2 separate regions of the Homo sapiens genome follow, and region 1 is linked to region 2. Evidence: promoter capture Hi-C in human tissues and cell types (Jung and others, 2019). All regions are on one chromosome and are shown on one strand. Each heading gives the region's core, a stretch centred on a gene start or on the middle of the fragment in contact. The rest is flanking DNA. Distances are from core to core; before and after follow the strand shown. Region 1 has its middle 260 kb from the start of LRATD1. Region 2 holds the start of DDX1 (DEAD-box helicase 1).

What was found. The method cuts DNA at HindIII sites, captures the fragments that hold promoters and counts their contacts. A contact is called where the count stands out against the background at its distance.
Region 1: a contact is called between a fragment that was not itself captured here and the fragment with the promoter of DDX1 in region 2, in 1 of the 25 tissues and cell types used here (lymphoblastoid cells).

What each region holds. Positions count from the first base shown.
Region 1 is chr2:14,892,248-14,898,936 of GRCh38, forward strand. It overlaps a transcript of NBAS not described here. Among named protein-coding and RNA genes, the nearest start is that of LRATD1, 260 kb to the left of the region's middle. The HindIII fragment of the contact is 3,958 bases long and covers 398-4,355 here.
Region 2 is chr2:15,590,303-15,596,963 of GRCh38, forward strand. It overlaps DDX1 (DEAD-box helicase 1), which reads left to right and starts at 1,566. Exons shown (of 26, transcript NM_004939.3): 1 at 1,566-1,647; 2 at 4,843-4,894; 3 at 5,188-5,251; 4 at 6,432-6,461. The coding sequence starts at 1,632. LOC124905975 (a long non-coding RNA gene) reads right to left here and starts at 1,467. Exons shown (of 2, transcript XR_007086224.1): 1 at 1,158-1,467; 2 at 1-1,030. RefSeq lists an enhancer at 1,605-1,664. The HindIII fragment of the contact is 10,803 bases long and covers 1-6,661 here.

The sequences.
Region 1 (6,689 bases), core at 1,127-3,626, 700 kb before region 2:
ATATAGAATAAATAGGAAAAAGAGAAAGGCAGACAGGAGGCAGCAATGATCAATAAACAAGCAAGCAAACCTCAAGGTCACATCAAGAAAATGTTGCAACTTGAGACCAAAGCATAAACCAAATTGGGTCCCCACACCTGTGGCACAATGGGCTCACAGGGCGACATAGATCAAGACCACGTAGGACACCTGAGTTCTCTTCCCTGTCCGACAACTAATTTTCTGCATACTTTTTAAATCGCTTCTCTTCCAAGGAAATCCATTTCCTCTTCTATGCAATGATGTGTTTATATTATACCGACTCTATGGCTGCTATTTAATTTAACTATTCTTCTAGTCCTAGTTAACTTAGTCGTATTTAGGAATTTCTGCCTAGCTTTAACAAAGGTCTTTTCAGCATCGATTGATTAAATCAATATGCTCTTTTTTTTTTTCTTCTCTTTCATTTTGTAGACATAATAACTAACGTATTATGTTTATGGATTTTTCTGGTATCAAATCGTCTTTGTATTTCTGGGATAAACCTGTTTGTCATAGTGTATTACTTTTTGAATACTCTGTTTGGATTCGATTTTTATCATCTTATTTAGACTTGTAGCAAGTTTATTCCTAACATTAGTCTCCTATTTCCTTTTATTTTATTTTATTCTTTGTCCTTCCTTACAGGATTAGACCACATTTGCTTAAGTGAATCAAAGAAATCTTTCTCTAAAGCCTAGAATAATTTACTTAATATTAGACTCACCTGTTCTCTAATGGTTAGCTAAAACTCAGCTGTGAAACCATTGCTTCATAATGTTTTTAAATATTTATTGATTATTAATCTTCTGTTTTTTACAGTAGTTGGATTCTTCAGCTTTTCTACTTGTTCTTGAGTCAGTTTTGGTCATTTACATTTTGTAAGAAAATAAAGTTGCATGTTTTCAGGCAATGAAGTTGCATGTACATGTGACTGTCACCTTTTCATTTCTAATTACAAACATTTTTATTCCCTCTTTTCCTTCATCAGATTTTTGAAGACCATGATCTAATTTTTTTGTCTTTTCAAGAAAACTGCTTTTGGATTTATTTGTCCTTTCTGCTTATTGTTTTGCTTTTTATATTATTTGTTTCAACTTCTATCTTTAATATTTTCTTCTTCCTAGTTTTTGTTACATTTTCTAATTCTTTTTCTAATTTTTAAGATGGATTTCTTTCTTTTTGTCTTTCTTCTATAAAACAAATATGTTTGCAGCTATAAATTTTCCTTTGAAGTCACTCTTAACTGTATCTCAATTTTGGCAGGAAGTACATGCTGTTTTTCTCCATCTGTACTCACTAGACTCATTCTTACCTTTTTCTGTTCTACTCTGTGCTCCTGGAACCCTTCCTTCATGGACTGTATCACCTCGGTTCTCTTGCTGAATAACTTTCAGTGGATTTTGGCCAATGGAAGGCAGCCGTGGGAAATCAGAGAACAGGAGAAAAGAGTTCTGCCCTACTCCCCACCCCAGTCCATCCTAGCAGTTTTTGCAGTGTTAATTGCTACATTTCTTCCAGGTACCATCTCATCCAGTGCACACTGTATTCCTCTAGCATGATTTACTCACCTTGTCCCTTCAAGCTTAGGGGTGACAACAGCTTCCCATTGTTGCCAGTCTTTGCAATGTTCCTTAATTCTGCCCAAACCTTTGAAAATAATCACTTTAGTAAAATCTATTCTGTTGAACCATCTGAATAGAGTTCTGCTTCCTGCTGGGATTGATACAAAATATTTATTGTGTGTAAATGGCTTATTATTTCAAAATTGATTTCTTCTTTTATCCAGTATCAAGTCTTACTTAGGAGTATATTTCTTAATTACCAAAAGTTAAGACTCTATCAGTGTTATTTTTTGTTACCTTTAGACTTACAGAGACTCAAAAATACATAGCTTTCATACATACCTTCTCAGAAAGCTACTAAAGAATGTGCTCCATCAAGATGAGAGAGTAAACCAAGAAAGAATATGTGAGATCCAGAAAACAGGGGATCCAACAGGCAGGAGGCAGAGGCTTCCCGATGATTGGAAAGGAAGTTTTCAGATGCCAGTGATGCAATCCAGAATGGAGCAGGAGTACAGGGGGGCACCAAGAGGATGTTTTTAATAACAAAATATAGAAACCTGGAACTGATATCTTATCTGATATGTTTGACTGCATTGACAGAAGATTTATAGGGTATTTTGAAGAGTTTGAAAAAATATGAGTGCTAGATACCATGATAGCCATGCAAATGAAAGAAATAAGTAATCATTAACTAACAGAAATGTAAAATATATATATAAATATAAAATATAATATGACTCCTCTGTGAGCAATGTTTATATAATCATAGTAATATAAACACTGAATATTGATTTAACCAAAAACTGGAATACTGCCATATTGAAGGGAAGGAGGAGAGAATGAATAAGCGTTGAGAGGGGTCACAAGGACTCTAAGTCCTTAATTCCACAGCAGAACATCAATGCACAAAATATAAATTGATAAATCAAAAACTGGCATAATAGGCCGGGCACGGTGGCTCATGCCTGTAATCCCAGCACTTTGGGAGGCTGAGGTGGGCGGATCACGAGGTCAAGAGATCGAGACCATACTGGCTAACATGGTGAAACTCCGTCTCTACCAAAAAATACAAAAATTAGTTGGGCGTGGTGAAGCGCCTATGGTCCCAGGTACTCGGGAGGCTGAGGCAGGAGAATCACTTGAATCCGGAAGGCAAAGGTTGCAGTGAGCTGAGATCACGTCACTGCACTCCAGCCTGGTGACAGAGCGAGACTCCAACTCAAAAACAAAAACAAAAAGGCATAATAACCATATTATTTGGGAATTAGGAGGTAAATACCAGAAGCTCACAAAACTGAAAGAAGTTTATTCTAGGAAGCAGGATCCAGGTGTATAAAGAGAGGGAAGGATCCAGGTGTGTAGAAGAGAGGGACAGATAACTGTTGTGTTGTTGTTGTGGTTGTGTAATAAGTCTTATTATTCTATTTGACTTTTTAAACTATGTGAATATATTACTTTGACAAGAAGGTAAATATTTACTTATAAAAATCCTAGAAGAAAACCTAGAAAAAAAACTCTTCTAGACATTGGACGAGTCAAAGAATTTATGATTAAGACCTCAAAAGCAAATGCAACGAAAACAAAAATAGACAAATGAGACTTAAACTAAAAAGCTTCTGCACAGGCAGGGCACTGTGGCTCACGCCTGTAATCCCAGCACTTTGGGAGGAAAAGGCGGGTGGATCACAAGGTCAGGAGATGGAGACCATCCTGGCTAACACGGTGAAACCCCATCTCCACTAAAAATACAAAAAAATTAGCCGGGTGTGGTAGCGGGCGCCTGTAGTCCCAGCTACTTGGGGAGGCTGAGGCAGGAGAATGGCGTGAACCCGGGAGGTGGAGCTTGCAGTGAGCTGAGATCGCGCCACCGCACTCCAGCCTGGGTGACAGAGCGAGACTCCGTCTCAAAAAAAAAAAAAGCTTCTGCAAAGAAAAAGAAATAATCAACAGACAACCTACAGAATGGGTACGCTTGGATACACGAGGGTAATAATAAACACTGAGGACATCAAAAGGGGAGAGGGAAGATGACGGGTAAGGACTGAAGAATTACCTACTTGGTACAATATTAACTATTCAGGTGATGGGCACACTAGAAGCCCAAACCTCACCATGACACAATATATCTATGAAACAAACCTGCACGTGTTACCTCCTGAGACTATAAAGGGGAAAAAAAAACGAAGATAAATGTTTAAAATACAGAATAAGAAAACTAAGAATCTCTGCTTTCCTTTGTCAGGCAACCATGAACAAAACAACAAAATTAATCCGGGAGAAGAGAGCCCATAACCACGTAGTACAAATTACCTGAATCGGCCCCTATTTCTCAATCTCAGTAGTCCACTGGCCCAGTTTCCAGGGAGGCTCTTTAACACAAGCAGGAAAGGCAGTAGAGCCTCACTTTGCCCTCAAAATATTAGAGGCCTTTCTTCAGCTCAGCCAATACGCTATGTAATGTATTAATAATATCAATGTTCATTGTATTCCAAATGCCAAACTAGTATGTGTATTAAGCCTTTTTCAAATTTGATAATTGACTGCTTGAAATTTAAGAGCGGTTTTATTCTGTTTCTCACAGCAATTTAATTTTTCCCTTAGTCATTCTCCCTCCTACGCCCCCACACTGAACAAATCTTCCTTCCTCCGTGTTATGGGGGGAATGGCTCCATAGCATAAATCTGGAAGCCGATCCTAAGCGCAAGGAACCAATTAGCTGCTAAGAAACACACTGCAGAGTTCTCTTGCCATTTTTTTTTTCCCTGAGATTTTGTGTTGTAATCATAGCCCTGCAAAACCAGGAGCACTGACTGTACATCAGTACTGCAGCTGCTACCGCCTTCTTTCTGGACTTTGAGGGCCTCGTTAAGGGTACAGAAGACAGGGAGCCCAGGCCAGTGAGTGAAGAAGTCTGCAGGCCATTGCAAAGAAGAAGCTGGTATTTAACAGCTGGGGAACAAATCACCGTGAACAACTATTGTTCATTTACCATAATGTCTCTGTTGATAATGTATAAGCATTTTAATGTAAATATTCTACTTTTTGTTAAAAATTTGCATAACATTTGATCACATAACCTGAATGCAAAAGAAGAGCCTCTAGTTCAGAGATTCGCAAGTCCTAGTTGGAGGCCCCTACTAGAGCTGCATGGAAATATCTCAGGAGCTTCTGTGGCTGTCAGGGGAGGGGAGCAGTAATTCGTGAGCCCCTAAAAGCCTGAGCCGTTCCTCTTTTTTTTTTTTTCCATCATTTTACACATGGGAAAAACGAAGGCCTCCAGGAAGAAGGAAGAAATTTGCCCAGTATCACACAGCGAGCAGGTGGCAAAGCTGGAACCAAACACAGGTCTCCTGATTCCTGCTTCAGTATTTTCACAGCTGTCTTTTCCTGCCTTTCTTATTTTTGGTGCTTTTCTCCTTATCAAAACTAAAAATGTATTCCTTTTTAGAGCGCTATGGAGATGTTACTTCTAGGCATTTCCCCTAAGGAGAGAAGTTTGATAAATTATTTAAATATCCACTTTTCTCTGCTAAAATGTATACTGTGTTTTTCTCTAGGTAAAATGTGAAAACACTTATTTTACCAAGCCATTTATATGCACCATTTTTCTTCTCAAAAGCTTCCCCTCTCCCATATCCATTGCTTTGTAAACCCCAAGGACGTTATAATGAAATATTGATTGTCCTCTCTCTTGTCTTCACCCTGGTCTAATGCCCCTATAGCTTCAGAATAATTTTGGTTGAGGAAGTACTAATTCAGAAATGTGTTTCTACATTTGGCTTTTTTTTTTTTTTCCAAAGACAGCACACAATATTGGCCAGGGAGTGTGCACCAGCATCTCAGCACATCAGCTCCTCTTTGCAGCATCTCCTGTTGAGACATCACATCTCATCAGCAGCAAGGATGTTGAATTTCTGGCCTCAGAAGGGATCTTTCCATTCTCAGGAGATGACAAGTTTATTAAGAAGGCGGTGGTTAACAATGAGACTGTGGTCTTTGGAAGTGAGGAGGAACTGTCTGGGCCTCCATTATAAGAGGGACACGGTTGGCTCCTGGGAAGACTGGGGGTTATTTGCCCTCATAGCACATCCTAAGGCTTGATGTTGGACACTTTCCTGGCTGGGCCAGAGTGAGGTGGGGAGCAATGCTGAGGAGGGTCCCAGTGTTTGTTCAAAATAGTAGGAGTTTTGGTCTGCTGAAATTTGTTCCAGGTTTAGAATCAGAAGAACCTAGGCTTAAAGGCCTTTCCATGGCCTACAGACTCCGCTAACTTGGACAATTTAATTTGCCTTTGCTTATATTTCTTATAAACTAGAGATAAATAAGGACTGCCTTTTTATTGATTTTGTGAGGATTTAATCAGCTAATTCACATTAAATGCTAACATGTGCTTGCAGATCCTTAGGAAATGTAAAGCCTCTCTCTTCCTTGAAAAGGTGAAAAATAATGTTGGTGTTTCTAAGGAGACACAGGGTAGCTTTTCCTAGTAAGACTTGAGAGGTGCTAGGGAAATCAATTTCCCATGGCTAGTCATTATGAAATGGACCCATATGTGAAGTTATACCCATTAAAAACAACAAATGGCAGAAAGGAGAGAGAAAGAGAGGGTTTCAGACTAGAAGAGCTATTCTGTGTTTCTAAGCCGCATAGTAAGTCACTTGATATGGTTTGGCTCTCTGTCCCCACCCAAATCTCATCTTGAATTATACTCTCATAATTCCCACATGTTGTGGGAGGGACCCAGTGGGAGATAACTGAATCCTGGGGGTGGTTTCCCCCACACTGTTTTCTTGGTAGTGAATAAGTCTCACAAGATCTGATGGTTTTATCAGGGGTTTCTGCTTTTATGTCTTCCTCATTCTCTCTTTGCCTGCTGCCATCCATATAAGACCGAACTTGTTCCTCCTTGTCTTCCACCATGATTATGAGGCTTCCCCAGCCATGTGGAACTGTAAGTTCAATTAAATCTCTTTCCTTTCTAAACTGTCCAGTCTCAGGTATGTCTTTATCAGCAGTGTAAAAATGAACCTGGACCTTACTATTGTCTCTATGGTTCTGTAGCTTGAGTTCTAGTTGGAACTATTGTGTCTACGTTTCTGTAGT
Region 2 (6,661 bases), core at 316-2,815:
TGTCCTGGGCCTTTGGAGCTTCAGGTGAATCCTGTTACATGTAATAGTAATAACAGAGCTAGTTATATTGTCACCATGTGCTATGCACTATTTTAGATGCTTTATGTATTTTATTTGATCCTCATAACTATCATATGAGAAAGGTACTATTGTTCATCCCTATTTCACAGGTAAGTAAACTGAAGCCCAAAGAAGCTTCATGACTTGTTCAAGGTCACACAGCAAGCAAGTGGCAGACCTAGAATCCAAACTCAGAATATGGTTCCCAACTCTGTACTTCTAACCCTATTCTATCTTTTTTATTTTTTATTTTTTTGAGACAGACTCTCCCTCTGTCGCCCAGGCTAGAGTGTAGTGGCACGATCTCAGCTCACTGCAGCTTTCGCCTCCCAGGTTCATGTGATTCTCATGCCTCAGCCTCCGGAGTAGCTGCAACCCTATTCTTTTTTCTTTTTTTTTTTTTTTGAGACGGAGTCTCGCTCGGTCACCCAGGCTGGAGTGCAGTGGCGCGATCTCGGCTCACTGCAACCTTCGCCTCCTGGGTTCAAGCGATTCTCCTGCCTCAGCCTCCCGAGTAGCTGGGACTACAGGCATGCACCACCACACCCGGCTTCTTCTGTGTGTGTGTGTGTGTGTGTGTGTGTGTGTATTTTTTGTAGAGAAGGGGTTTCACCGTGTTAGCTAGGATGGTCTCGACCTCCTGACTTCGTGATCCGCCTGCCTCGGCCTCCCAAAGTGCTGGGATTACAGGCGTGAGCCCCCGCGCCCGGCCGCTGCAACCCTATTCTATCTTGCCTGAGGGTTCCACTTTTCTCCATGACACTCTGGGGCAGGCTACAGATAGCACAGCACGCGCCCTCGCATTGCGCAGATGTGGCTCAGATCCCACGCTGCCATTCGGTAGATATGTGTCTTTAGATAAGTGACTTAACTTTCCCGAATTTTAGAGTCCTCATCTAAAGATTCTAATACCTTCCTGACAGAGTGAGTGTCTGGTTGGGAGGATTCCTCATTTACTTTCCCCATCTCTCTGCAAAGAGAAAGGAGTTAAAATTGCATGGAAGTCAAACCCGAAATTATAAAAGCGACATCAAACATGGGTGAAGGGAGGGAGACCTAAATCATTACTTAGTTTAAAAAAAAAATGTAACAAATACCTACTGGCTGCCAGGCACTCACTGGCATTGGTGCTCAGGGCAATGAATCCAGTCCATCTCTCCGGGTCATTCACACACCAAGGCCCTGCTCACCTTTGGAAAGCTGGGGGACTGAGTGGGGAGGGCACGGTGTGGTGTCAGCCTGAGCCCACTGGATGACCCTAATCACCAAACATCTGCTTCCTTCTCTGTAGCTGTGACCCTGATACCGCGTGGTGTGCTCCGAACACATGGTGCCCAGAACGAAGGCGGCGTCCAGAAGCCCTAGGTCCCAGAGGTCCGCTCAGCGGCAGGCGCATAAGGCGGGGCCGGCGCGGGCCTTTCCTTCCATCGGAACCGTTCTCCCGGGGCTGAGTCCCTGCCCGGACTCCGAACGCCGAAGACCAGGGGCCGGAAGCGCGCGCCGCCACTGCCACGCCGTGTCAGTCGGGAGGGAGGGAGCGAGCAGGCGAAGCCGCGGAGGACGGGGTGAAGATGGCGGCCTTCTCCGGTGCGTTTGTGGAAACTCTGGGGGTGGTGGGGCGGCTTGTTGCACGCCTCAGCCCTGGGGCCGCCCGCGGAGAGCTAAAGGGGCGGGAGCGGACAGGGGTCAGGGAGACAGAAGGGCGCTGTCCGCTGCAGTCCCTGATGGACCCGCGTTGCGGGATCAGGGGCGGCCGCGGCTCGGGTTCGGAGGACGATTCTTCCCAGGAGCGGGCCGGAACGTCCCTCCCCCTGCCCTTTCCCTTCTACCAGTCTCCACTTGGCTTTCCTGCCAGTGCACCTTCGGCTGCAAAATCTAGGCGGCGGCGTTGCTCTGGCGGCTCCCAGACGCCTGGGCCTCCTGCCTCTTAACGTGGCAGTGACCCTTTGGGAACCCTTTTCTGCCCGCGGCTCATCTGGGCTTGGCCAGGCAGAGAGGCGAGACGGCGTGGGGAGGAGTCATTGGGGAAAAATGACGATCCTGCCTCTGTCCAGTTTTTTCAGGCCCTTCCAAAACGTCCCAGGCATAAACCTGATCTTTATTTGTTCTTAAACGTTGTTATATCAACATTAATGTTCAGTGTTGAAGCTAAAGGGAAAGCATTTTCATTAACGTACGCACCAGTCCAACATAAGTTTGGAAAATTCATATTTATTTGCCGTCTGCTACCCTCCTTTATTCCAAATATGATTTGATATGGCTTATCGAACCCTACAGTTGATATTTTCGCCTCTTGCTTTATCATCCTCCTGTTAGGCATCCAGTTTTAGGAAGCTGTAATCAGCCTTAAATGCGCTAAACGTGATACATTTATGTAGCACTTATGTAACGTTTATTGCTATATAAATGTATCACGTTAGGCCTAATGTCCTTTAATGTTATTAACTTTTTAAGATGACTTCAGATGTAGTATTTTATATTTTTTAGTTTTCTTCTGTAAGAATATTAGGAATTCCATATCTCCAGTCATGTAAGATATTTTTTTTCTTTTTTGGGGGGGAGAATGGGGGGGTGGGGGGATGTAGTCTCCTTCTGTCGCCCCAGCTGGAGTGCAATGGTGTGATCTTGGCTCACTGCAGCCTCCACCTCCCAGGTTCAAGCAATTCTCCTGCCTCAGCCTCCTGAGTAGCTGGGATTACAGGCGCCTACCACCATGCCCTGCTCATTTTTGTATTATTAGTAGAGACGGGGGTTTCACCATGTTGGCCAGGCTGGTCTCGAACTCCTGACCTCAGGTGATCCGCTCACCTCGGCTTCCCAAAGTGCAACAGTCATGTAAGATTTCTGACTGTTTCAGTTACATCTTCTAATAGGATTCAATTGGAAACTGCTCAGAGTTGTTGCTGTTTTTCTTTTCCCAACATTCTCCTAAAACGATTTTAGAGCCAAGGTCTGTAGGATAGTTCTAGGTAGTCATTTTATAGGTTCACATCTTTGGGAGTCATACACAAATTTCATGAATGTTAGAGGTAAAGGACTGGAAAAAGTCTGTGATATGAAATAAGACAAAACTGGAATTTCACGAATGTTTCTAATTTTTCCTTAACTGTTAAAAGTATTATACTTAAGGTCCGCTTTCAAAGAAAACTTGCAGGGAACATGACCAGAATGGTACAAGAGATTGTCTGGAATTTACTGAAAATGATATGTTGTTTCTTGTATAACAATTTTGCAAAGAGCTTCAGCTTGCAGTATTCCGTATGCAGTAAGAACACACCACTCCTTTGTTTCAAGCAGTTTGCATTTTAGGAGAGAGAACATAGACTGTAATACAGGTTAATTCTTAGGAAGGTCTGCCTGGATATTCAACTTTAGATCTTCATTAGTTTATCTGTGGCTTTTTTTTTTCCTGAGATTAAGAGCTAGGAAAGTCGCCAGGTGCAGTGGCTTATGCCTGTAATCCCAGCACTTTGGGAGTCCAAGGTGGGCAGATCACGAGGTCAGGAGATTGAGACCATCCTGGCTAACACAGTGAAACCCCGTCTCTACTAAAAATATGAAAAAAAATTAGCGGGCGTGGTGGCATGCGCCTGTAGCCCCAGCTCCTCGGGAGGCTGAGGCAGGAGAATTGCTTGAATCTGGGAGACGGAGTTTGCAGTGAGTGGAGATCATGCCCCTACACTCCAGCCTGGGTGACAGAGTGAGACTGTCTCAAAAAAAAACAAAAGAAAAGAAAAAAAAGAAAAAGAGTTAGGAGAGCCTTCTTTGAAAATGATGATCCTTCTCATCTGATGCAAAGAAAAAGCTACATAATTTTATGAAGAATATTTTCAGTTTGTATGTTTGCTTTATGCCTTTTCACAATGGCAAGAAATACAGAATTTCAGAATTGGTTATTTCTGGGGCTTGGGAATGTTTGATTCTTGTTCTTTTTTTTATAGGAATATATATTTTTATGATAAAGCTATATTTTATAAATACAGACTTAAAATAAAAATCACTTGTCTTTTGGAAGGAAAGTTTAAGTAATCCAACTAACTACTCCATATATAATTACCCTCTACAGTTCATATGAGAAATGATAAAATGACAAAACCCGGTTAGGAGCAACTCATCTCTATTCATTTAGGATGGGCCTTGAAGTAGAATTATTGAGATATGTATACAGTTAAGAACTCAGCAGTTCTTCAGCTGACATTTCCAGGTGCCCACGTTTTCACCACTGACCCCTCCCTCTTCAGTTATTCAGAATTTTGATTATGGCTGCCAATAAATGTGGGTGCTCGCCACTTGTCTATTCATTTTTTTCCAATTGCTGAGGGTATTCACATGGTCCTAGAATAGCCAAGGCACATAACTGCCACATTGTCTCTAAATGCAACAACCCTGTCTATTCTTGGCAGACTTTTCACGAGTCATGAGAGGTAAACAGGCACTGTAGTGGCTACAGTTTATTAGGTGACAACCATGCTCCAGTTGCATTACATGATTATCTCTGGTCTTCATATAGCCCTGCAAGGTAGGCAATATCAGCCCCATTTTGTGTGGAGAAAACAGATTTATAGCTTTGCCTAAGGTCACTTGCTAATAAGTGAGAACTTAGATTTGAACTCAGGTCTTTCTCCAGAACTTGTGCTCTTTCAACAGTGCCACGCTCAGTAGATTTGATGTAACTGAGCTATCCTTCAAAATCTTTACCCTGTTTTATGAATAGTAATTTTGAGAGCAATGCAATTTATCATTTCAGTTTATGTGGTTTTTAAAATTAATTTTTACTTTCAGAGATGGGTGTAATGCCTGAGATTGCACAAGCTGTGGAAGAGATGGATTGGCTGTAAGTACATAAAGCCTAAATGTACCTGGGAGAGGATGTTTTATAATTTAAACAGTTGTTAGTGATTTTATCAAATATTTTTGTGTCTAGTTGGGTAAGTGAAAATCAGGTTTTTTTTGTGATTTTCTAAATTATGGAAAGTTTCCTTTTTTTAACCTTGACATATTTCTAGTGGAATAAGATGGATCGTATTTACCACGTAAAATTTTCTTTTAGGCAAATTAACGTGACTTAATTTGCTTAGGCGATTTTTTTCCCCAGTAACTAAAATTCTTCAAATATGATTCTTTTAGCCTCCCAACTGATATCCAGGCTGAATCTATCCCATTGATCTTAGGAGGAGGTGATGTACTTATGGTAAGTTTAAATTTGGTGAGGTGATTGGTAGCTGGGGACACACTCTAAGAATTGCATAGGCTTACAAATGCTACTTTACCTTTATTCACAAACATTTATGATACATATACTGTATTCAGACTATTAGGTAAAAGCTTCAAACAGGTAAGTATTTACTCCTGAGAAGCTTAAACCCACTAGGGCAATAAGACATGTATAAGAATGAATCTCGTATCAGAGAGAATGTGGCTTCTTCGTAAGAGATGCAGAGTAGTATAGAATTCAAGTGGGAATCCAGTTGTCCTTTTGCTTGAAGGATCATAGGGACTGCTTAAAGGAAGTAGATTTCTTTTTTTTTGTTTTTGTTTTTTGGAAAAGGCCAAGCTCTGTTGCCCAAGCTGGAGTGCAGTGGTGTGTTTATAGTTCACTGCAGCCTCAAACTCCTCGGTTCAAGCAATCTTCCTATTTCAGCCTCCCAATTAGGTGGGACTACAGGTACACACCACCACATCCAGCTAATTTATTGTATTTTTTTGTAGAGACAGGGTCTCACTATGCTGCCCAGTCTGGTCTCCAACTCCCAGCCTCAAGCGATCCTCCTGTCTTGGCCTCCCAAAGTGCTGGAGTTATAAGTGTGGGCCAGATTTTTCGCAAGGGAAGATAAAAGAGAAATGCTTTTTAGGTAGAGAGAATATCAGCAAAACAGCGAATAGTAGAATGTAGGATATGACCCTGGAATATTTCAGTTGGTTGGTAGCATAAAATATGTGTCTGAGGGGGGATAAACTTGAAATAAAATTGTAGAGAGATAATGGGTCAGATTATTTGGGCTCTTTCTCAAGTGTCTTGTTAAAGAATTTGAGTGTTAGTCTTCTATGAAGACTAATCTGAGTAGCAGATTGTAGTATAGCTCTGGGATTAGATGTTGTTCGGATACTTTTATAATAATCTAGATTAGAATGATGAGAGCTTCCGTTTGAATGGTAGCAATGGGAAAGGGAAGAGAAGATTCTTAAGGGTATGGGAAAGGTAACAAGATGGGCTGTAGTTGGAGTTGACAGAGGAACCCTGGATATCTGGAGGCACTGTGAAAATAAAGGTAGCCAGTCAAATGTTAAAGATTTCTACATACTATGGTGTTAGTTTGATTTCTTTAATAGACAACTTAATCTGTAAAATCAACTTTTTTCCCCTCATTCAGGCTGCAGAAACAGGAAGTGGCAAAACTGGTGTAAGTAATAAATTATATTTACTTTCTCTCTAAAAGTTGAATTTTAAAATAACTTTGAACAGTAGTTTTTACTTTGAAATATTTAATAAAATAGCAACCTCCAAAAGGTAAGGAATTAATTACTTGCTACTGAAAATGATATTTTTGTTGCCAGCTAATTATGAAGAGCTAAAAAAAGTATGACCTTAAGAACATAGTTT